Regions from separate parts of the Homo sapiens genome. Here region 2 is linked to region 1. Evidence: promoter capture Hi-C in human tissues and cell types (Jung and others, 2019). All regions are on one chromosome and are shown on one strand. Each heading gives the region's core, a stretch centred on a gene start or on the middle of the fragment in contact. The rest is flanking DNA. Distances are from core to core; before and after follow the strand shown.

Region 1 (4,598 bases), core at 1,955-4,454:
CGCTGAGGGGGCGTGAATGAGGGGAGATGGAGGCTCACCCGTGGGTGTCCCCACCCTGCCTCAGTCTCCCTCCATGCCCCCAAGTCACCGCCCTCCCTCCCTCCTTCCCACCAGCTCCCTTGAGGATGGGGAAGGAGCAGAGGTTGGCCACAGAGACAAGAGGTCTCCGAGACGGTCCCCTGCCATGGCCAGCCCGGTGGCAGAGGGCAGGCAGGGCTTCTTGCGTTCCAGGACTTGGCTCAAGCCTGAGGCAGGCATTCTTAGCTCCATCGCTCCTTCAGGAAAACTGAGGCTTAAACAAACGGTCACTGGCCTAGGCCCCGGGACAGGGCTGAGCACTAGCCCAAGCCTCAAGCCTGCTCCTCCCATTCCTGGCAAGGAGAACGGCAGGAGCTGTGGAAGGAGGGGCTGGAGAGCGTGGTGAGTGGGCGCTGGGCATGCAGAGAGCAGGCGGGCAGGAGGCAGAGCTGGGAGCAGGCCCGCTGCAGCTTCCTGGAGGGGCAAGAGGGAGCTGGGGTCTGAGGAAGACAGGAGGGGGCCAGGCCCCAGCCCGACGTACCGGTGCAGACCAGCCCCGCATCCTCGCTGTGGTCACAGTTGCTCCGGCCCCAGGGGCTTCGGGGGCAGTCTCGGAGGGCCTGTTCTCCTCCTCCACACCCCACATCGTCCATCCACACGGGCCCTGCACCAGGCCCGAATCTGGCACCGCCGGGGGCAGCCAGCGCCCCCCCACAGCCCAGTTCCCGGCAGGCTACAGCAGCGTCGCGCAGGTCCCAGCCATCGTCACATACGGTGCCCCAGCGCCCGCCGTGCCAGACCTCCAGGCGTCCGGCGCACCTGTGGGGGCCAGAGACCAGGCGCAGCCGCTCTGTGGGGTGAGCAGGGAGGGGACGGTGTGGCCAGTGAGAAATGATTCAAACACCCCTTCCTCGATTTCCACCTGGGGAAACAGGCCTGAGGGAGCGGTGGCCTGAGATCTGTCCGCCGGCAGCCCGTGAAGAGGTGAGTCCACGACCTGAGCGGGCCAGGACACCTGGGCCTCCTGACAGGGCAGGAAGAAGAGGGGAGACCAGGCCTGGCCGTCTAAATCCCCGGGGGAGGGACGCGGGGAACACTGGGATCCCTCCAGGGCCCCGGCTAAGGAGAGGGCGCCCGCAGGTCCTCAGTTTTTCTGGGCCCTGGGCCTCACAGCAACCAGCCTTGGGGTCGGGGGAGCCTGCAGGGAGCTTACCTTGGCGGGGGGCTCCTGTCGTCAGCAGAGGGGCCCGGGTGGACTTGGCCTGCTTGGGCCGGGGGCTCTTCTTCCGGGAGGCGTTCTGGGGGTTCCCAGCTGGGCGGGGGGCTGGGAGTGGAGACAGCCAGGGGTCAGGAGCTGAGCCCCTCATCCTTCCTCCCACCTGGGGGCCCAGGCCTCCGTCTCTGAGGGTCTGAAGTGATGGAGGACTCCCTAGGCTATGAAGGAGACGGGGCGGGGCAGGGGGCGGGCTGTGTGTCCCCTGGGAGTTCATACTGCAGAGGTCCCTCTCCCCTCGGTGGGGGCAGGAGGGCACGCTGGGTGGGGGTTGGCAGGGCAGTCCCTCTCCCCTCGGGGGGGGCAGGAGGGCACGCTGGGTGGGGGTTGGCAGGGCAGTCCCCTGGGCTCACCATGTGTCACCAGGGGCTCCTCCGTGCTGGGGCTCAGCTCCAGCAACAGCCCTGGCCAGGGAGCCCCATCCAGGGGAGATGTTGAGTCGTCCCTGGAGTTAGCCACACGCTGACCTGCGGCGGGGGGGCAGGGACAGAAGCTATGAGGAGAGGAGGGGAATCCAGGCCATTTGGGTCCCTGGAAGAGGGAGTTAGCCACCTGGCTTTGGAGGGGATGGGAGGTTGGGTGTCTCTGAACTGCTGAACACTCAGACTTGCTGGGGCTAAGGACTTGGGGTTCCTGGGTCATCTCCAAAGGAGCTCCCCCTGAAGGAGCAGCCAGGGTGTCCTCACCTGCGCAGACGACGCCCGCGTCCTCCTCGTGGGAGCAGATGTGGGCCTTCCAGCCCCGGTGGTGGCAGAGGCCCAGCTGCCCCTCGTTGCCCCGGCAAGCCAGCTCGCTGAGCCACACAGGCCCTGCCCCCTCCCCGAAGAAGGCGCCTCCCGGGGCGGCCAGTGCCCCTCCGCAGCCCAGCTGCCGGCAGGCCACGGCGGCATCGCGCAGGTCCCAGCCGTCATCACACACGGTGCCCCAGCGCCCGCCATGCCAGACCTCCAGGCGGCCAGCGCACCCATGGGGGCCATCGGCCAGGCGCAGGCGCTCTGAGGGTTGGAGGAATGGCTGTGACTGGGGAGGGGCATCCTGGGGGCCCCAAGGCCAGGGCAACTGTAGGGGCAGGTGGCTGTCCTGCAGGTACTGTCTGTAGGCCAGTGGCCCTGCTCACTGGCCCCTGGGCCCAGACTCCTGGGTGCTCAGAGAGATGCGGCCAGACACCTGGGGGATTCCCTTGCGGAGCTGGGGCCAAGGTCACAGTGGAATTCGGATGGGCCGGGGACCCAGTGGGGGTGAGGCCAGGCCTGGATGGGCAGAAGGGGGAGGCCTGGGGGGGGGGGCGGGCAGATGGGAGGAGTCTGGGCACTTACCAACAGCCTGGATCCCCACCAGGGCCGCTGGAAGGGAGGGCGGAGGGTGGGGCAGTGTGAGGGGCAGGCCGGGGGTGGCCCTTTCTCCAGCGCAGGCCCCTCATCTTGAATACCCCAACACACACACACACACACACACACACACACACACACACACACATGGGCTTGGCTAAAGGTCAGATGTCTGGGAGATCCCCCGCAGGGTCAGGGCTGGGGGGCGGGCAGGGGGCAGGTCCCTTGGGCTTCTGGGCTGGCAGAAGGCTGGGCAGATTGAGCAGGGATCCTCAGAAGGGATGTCAGGGTATGCAGGAGCACCAGCGACCAGTCCCGGAAGTTTGAGTCCCTAAACTGGACAAGCTAAGGGGTCAGAGGTGGGGGCCTAGGCCCCCCGAGTCCCCAAGGAGAATGGATCACTCACCAAGGAGGCAGGCCAAGACCCTCATGGTTGCAGCCAGGGCAGGGGATGGGGTGAAAGGGGAAGGAGAGCGGGGAGAGAAGAGGAGGAGGCAGCTGGGGAGAGAGGGAGGGAGGGAAGTGCCTGCTGGAGGCGCCCAGGCCCGAGGAGGAGCAGGCAGGGCTGGACGCTTTGCCAGGAGGAAGAAAGAGGCTGCAGGGAGGCGGCAGGGGACGGTGGGGGGGAGGGGGGGCGGGAGGGGGCTGGCCGTCTGCTGAGGCATGGGGGGGAGGGGGGTGGCGGGCGGGAGGGAGGGTGTCCAACTGCAGACACCCACACGGGAGATGGAGACGACGGCCAGGCAGGCTCCAGCCAGCAAAGTGCTGTGCCCAGAGATGCTTAGGGGGTGGCCGGCTGCAGGAAGGCACAGGACAGGGGTTGGGGGACGTGTGCGGGGGGGGCGCAGCATGAGCGGGAGGGGCGCCCACCTGCTGTCTCCCCTCTTGTCTGGTCAGGGAAATCCAGTGAGACCACTGCTAGGGTTGGGGGCTGGGCAGACCTGGGGTTCTTGGTGCAGCAGCAAGAAGATTTGCAGCCAGACACCAGGAGGGACTTCCTGGGTTAGGAAAAGAGACTGAAAGACCCGGCCCTCCAGTCCTCCCACTCACTGGTGGATCTGAGTGTGAAGCCCCCAGTCCCCAGCTGAGAGAGGAGAGGTTGAACTTCACTGTCCCAGAGGGAGCTGGGGTCGGGGGATAAGCAGCACAAGGGTCAAGGCTTGGGAAGGGGAGGGGCTCCACACACTCTTCCACACACTCACACACACACACACACACCCCACTGCCTGCACACCAGGCAGCTGTGAGGCGGAAAAAATTCGGTAATGGGGAGCGTGACTCAGAAGGGCTGGCAGGGCCTCGGGCTGCCCCTGAGCTCACAGCCTCCCCTTCTCCCAGTCCAGCACCGTCCCCCAACAATTAATGTTAACTGGGGAAAGGAGAAGCCAGACAGAAATGGGCGGGGGTGTCCGGAGACAGACTGGGAAAGCCATCAGAGAAGAGACAGGCACACAGCGGTTTCAGGCTTTATTAACAAACGGTGTAAAAAACCAGACGGATCTGGAGGAAGGGACAGGGCTGCCCGTCTCAGCTCTCAACCTTCCCAGAGAGGGGCCAGGCCTGGCAGCCCTGTGCGTCGCGCCTCCTAAGCAGTCAACCTTGTCCCCTCCAAGGACAGGCATCTGACCCAATCCAGGTCCCAGGGAGGCGGAGTCGCAAACCCTAACTCTGGGGTGTATTCTGCTCGGCCTCCTCTCCCCCTCCCCAGATAGCTCTCCCAGCCTGGGGCACGGACAGCACAGACTTTGCAGACATCACCCGGGGAGGTTTCTCAGTGCAGACAGGAGCTGAGGTAGGGGTTGGAGAGGCTGACCTCGAGAGGCCCCCGAGGGCCAGGAAGGAAAAGGAGTCATTCCACTCTGAGAAGCTCAAACACAACAGACTTCACACTGCTGACGGGTGGACAGAGGCCAGGCTCCTCCCCTCGGCAGGCCTCTGTTTCTGGGCCCAGGGTGGTTGAGGACTCACTGAGGGAGAGC
Region 2 (4,077 bases), core at 168-2,667, 170 kb after region 1:
GAGGAGTTTGAGACCAGCCTGGCCAACCAACATGGTGAAACCCCGTCTCTCCTAAAATATACAAAAATTAGCCGGGCATGGTGGCAGGCGACTTAATCCCAGCTACGTGGGAGGCAGAGGCAGGAGAATCATTTGAACCTGGGAGGTGGAGGTTGCAGTGAGCCGAGATCGAGCCATTGCACTCAAACCTGGGGGATAAGAGTGAGACTTCTCTCAAAAAAAAAAAAAAAAAAAAAAAAAAAAAAGAAGAAGAAGATGAAATTACTGGCCGGGCTCTGTGGCTCACGGCTGTAATCCCAGCACTTTGGGAAGCCAAGGTAGGTGGATCACCTGAGGTCAGGAGTTGGAGACCAGCCTGGCCAACACGGTAAAACCCCATCTCTACTAAAAATACAAAAAATTAGCTAGGGGTGGTGGCAGGTGCCTGTAAGCCCAGCTACTCAGGAGACTGAGGCAGGAGAATTGCTTGAACCCGGGAGGCAGAGGTTGCATTGAGCCGAGACCATGCCATTGCACTCCAGCCTGGGCTGCAAGAGTGAGACTCAGTCTCAAAAAAGAAAAGAAAAGAAAAAAGAAATTAGTGAGGCTGGGCACAGTGGTTCATGCCTGTAATCCCAGGACTTTGGAGGCTGAGGCTTGAGCCCAGGAGTTCAAGACCAGCCTGGACAACATAGCAAGACTCTGTCTCTACAAAAAATAAAGAATTAGCCAGGCATGGTGGCGTGAACCTGTAGTCCCAGCTATGCAGGAGGCTGAGGTGGGAAGATGGAGGATTGCTTGAGCCCAGGAGGTCGAGGCTGCAGTGAGCTGTGATTGTGCCACTGCACTCCAGCCTGGTGAACAGAGTGAGACCTTGTCTCCAAAAAGAAATGACTGAGATTTACTCATTCTTCATGTTAGGCACATTGATTGAGCATTTGGCAGCCATTGGCAGCAGGCTTTCCATTTTGTACATGACTTCATTCCATCTCCATGAAGACTCTAGCTAGGTCACTCATTGCCCATGGACCACAGAGAATATATTTATATATATACATATATTGGAGATGGAGTCTTGCTCTGTCACCCAGGCTGGAGTGCAGTAGTGCGATCTTGGCTCACCGCAACCTCCGCCTGCTGGGTTCAAGCGATTCTCCTGCCTCAACCTACCAAATAGCTGAGACTACAGGCACCTGCCACCAGGCCTGGCTAAATTTTTTTTGTATTTTTAGTAGAGATGGGATTTCACCATATTGGCCAGGCTGGTCTTGAACTCCTGACCTCAAATGAGCCACCCACCTCAGCCTCCCAAAGTGCTCCACAACTATTTATTTATTTGAGACAGAGTCTTGCTCTGTGGCCCAGGCTGGAGTGCAGTGGTGAGATCTTGGCTTACTGCAACCTCCATCTCCCGGGCTCAAGTGATTCTCCTAACTTCAGCTTCCAGAGTAGCTGGGATTACAGGCGCTCACCACCACGCCCGGCTACTTTTTGCATTTTTAGTAGAGATAAGGTTTCACCATGTTGGCCACGCTGGTCTCAAACTCCTGACCTCAAGTGATCTGCCTACCTTGGCCTCCCTAAGTGTTGGGATTACAGGCATGAGCCACTGTGCCCAGCCCTCAACCTATTATTATTATCTTGCTCCTCTAAGGAGTATTTTTAGACATTTCCCCCTGGTTCTCCCCTCTTCCCATGAAATTTTAAGTATTTATTTTATTTATTTATTATTTGTTTATTTATTTTTGAGATGGGATCTTGCTCCGTTGCCCAGGCTGGTGTGCGATGGTGCCATCTCAGCTCACTACAACCTCTGCTTCCTGGGCTTAAGTAATCCTCCAGCCTCAGCCTCCTGAGTAGCTGGGATTACAGGCCTGAGCCACCATGACCGGCTAATATTTGTATTTTTTTTTTTCTTGAGATGGAGTCTCACTCTTGTTGCCCAGGCTGGAGTGCAATGGTGCGATCTTGGCTCACTGCAACCTCTGCCTCCTGGGTTCAAGTGATTCTCCTGCCTCAGCCTCCCAAGTAGCTGGGATTACAGGTGCCCGCCACCACGCCTAGCTAATTTTTTGTATTTTTAGTAGAGACAGGGTTTCACCATGTTGGCCAGGCTGGTCTCGAACTCCTGACCTCAAGTGATCTACCCGCCTTGGCCTCCCAAAGTGCTGAGATTACAGGTGTGAGCCACTATGCCTGGCAATATTTGTATTTTTTGTAGAGACGAGGTTTTGCCATGTTGCTCAGGTGGGTCTTGAACTCCTGAGCTCAAAGTGATCTGCCTGCTTCACCTTCCAAAGAGCTGGGATTACAGATGTGAGCCACCGCACCAGGCCAAAATTTTAAGTATTTTAAAATTTTAATGGAATATGTGCTATGTATCCGTGAGTCACATACAATTGTAATATTTAAGAATTTTTCACCTGCAAGACCAATTTTTGGGGAAATGTCTGTCCCCCGCCTTGAGAATGCAAGATTTATCCCACTCATATTTACTGAGCATCTACTATGTGCCCATCACTGTTCTAGGAATTGAGGCCACAGCAGTGAACAACAGATTTCAATGCCTGCTCTCGTGGAGCTGACAATAGCTGATGTGCTTAATAAGCCCATCACTGGGTATGGAAAGTTGGTGACCACTGTCTACTGCATTGGTGAAGGGCCCTGGCCCCTCTGGTGCCCCTTACCCTCCTTCCCAGAGTCTCCCTCCCAACTTCTCCCTTCTCCTCCCAGGAAAAGAACCAGCGGCCTACGCACTTGGCAGGGGCCTTCCTTGCCTTCATCTTGGGTAACGTCTACTTCTGGCTGCAGCTCCTCCTGTGGAGGCTGAAGAGGCTGCCCCAGCCCGGGGCTGCCTGGATTGGGCCCCTCCGCCTGGGCCTCTGCAGCGTCTGCACCATCCTCATTGTGGCCAGTATCCTTCTTGTATCCGGGGTAGGGCTTGGAGGTGGCTCTTCACTGGAGTTGGTCTTCCTGCCTGGCTGTCTGTCACTGGGGATGTCTCTTCCTTTCTCTGGGCCTCACTCTTTGCACAGGATTATGGCTTTGTCATCGAGAATGCCGACTTCGGGGTCAGGTTGCCCAGGTTGGAAGCCCCTGTCCTCCACACAGCAGCTGGGGGAAACTTCCGCGGGCTGTTACTTCTCGGTGTCAATGGTTTCGTCATCCCTCAAATGTGGATAACGACAGGGCTGACCTCAGGGTTGTGGAGTGGATAGGATAATAGGCATACGGTGCTTAGATCTGTGCCTGGCACATAGCGAGTGACCAATAGACGCTGGAAGAATGATATACTAAGAACAGTCCCTTGAGGGCACCTGCTCTGTGCCAGGAATCATGTGGTTACGAGTGAAGACGGGTTCAGACAGGAAAAGTCTTTCGGCCAGGATGCGCGTGAGGTTCTGCAATGGAGCTGGTGATAGGCTGCAGGTGGCTTGCGCAGGCTCTGAGAGGCATTCTGTGAACTGCTCGTCCGAACTCCATGTCCTGTGATATCATGTGAGTAGCTTGAAATAGCCATCATGGGAGTATTTATACCACTGTAATTGGCAGATGCCACCAACCAGAGCCAGTTGTTAAACATTTACTAGCACACCACATGAGGCTTGACTCAATTCCAACTCATTTCTGAGCCATCCCCAGAACCGAGGCACTTTCCACCAGCACAGTGTACTTCTAGATGGGTCAGGTCACTCTCTGAGGCCTCAGTTTCCATATCCATAAAATGGATTTGCTTTTATCATCATGATTATTTTTATTTATTTATTTTTGAGACAGAGTCTTGCTCTGTCGCCCAGGCTGGAGTGCAGTGGCGTGATCTCAGCTCACTGCAACCTCCGCCTCCCGGGTTCAAGCGATTCTCCTGCCTCAGCCTTCCACGTAGCTGGGACTACAGGCACCTGCCAACCACACCTGGCTAATTTTTTTTTTTTTTTTTTTGAGACGGAGTCTCGCTCTGTCACCTAGGCTGGAGTGAAGTGGCGTGATCTTGGCTCACTGTAAGCTCCGCCTCCCAGGTTCATGCCATTCTCCTGCCTCAGCCTCCTGAGTAGCTGGGACTACAGGCGCCAGCCACCATGCCCAACTAATTTTTTGTAT

Evidence for each region. The method cuts DNA at HindIII sites, captures the fragments that hold promoters and counts their contacts. A contact is called where the count stands out against the background at its distance.
Region 2: a contact is called between a fragment that was not itself captured here and the fragment with the promoter of SSC5D in region 1, in 3 of the 25 tissues and cell types used here (dorsolateral prefrontal cortex, mesenchymal stem cells and spleen).

Annotation. Positions count from the first base shown.
Region 1 is chr19:55,487,042-55,491,639 of GRCh38, reverse strand. It overlaps SSC5D (scavenger receptor cysteine rich family member with 5 domains), which reads right to left and starts at 3,204. Exons shown (of 14, transcript NM_001144950.2): 1 at 3,026-3,204; 2 at 2,608-2,634; 3 at 1,978-2,286; 4 at 1,645-1,758; 5 at 1,232-1,342; 6 at 560-868. The coding sequence starts at 3,050. NAT14 (N-acetyltransferase 14 (putative)) reads right to left here. Exons shown (of 3, transcript NM_020378.4): 3 at 4,074-4,598. The HindIII fragment of the contact is 17,473 bases long and covers 1-3,890 here.
Region 2 is chr19:55,315,602-55,319,678 of GRCh38, reverse strand. TMEM150B (transmembrane protein 150B) reads left to right here. Exons shown (of 8, transcript NM_001282011.2): 7 at 2,713-2,893. Among named protein-coding and RNA genes, the nearest start is that of TMEM150B, 7.7 kb to the left of the region's middle. The HindIII fragment of the contact is 7,983 bases long and covers 1-4,077 here.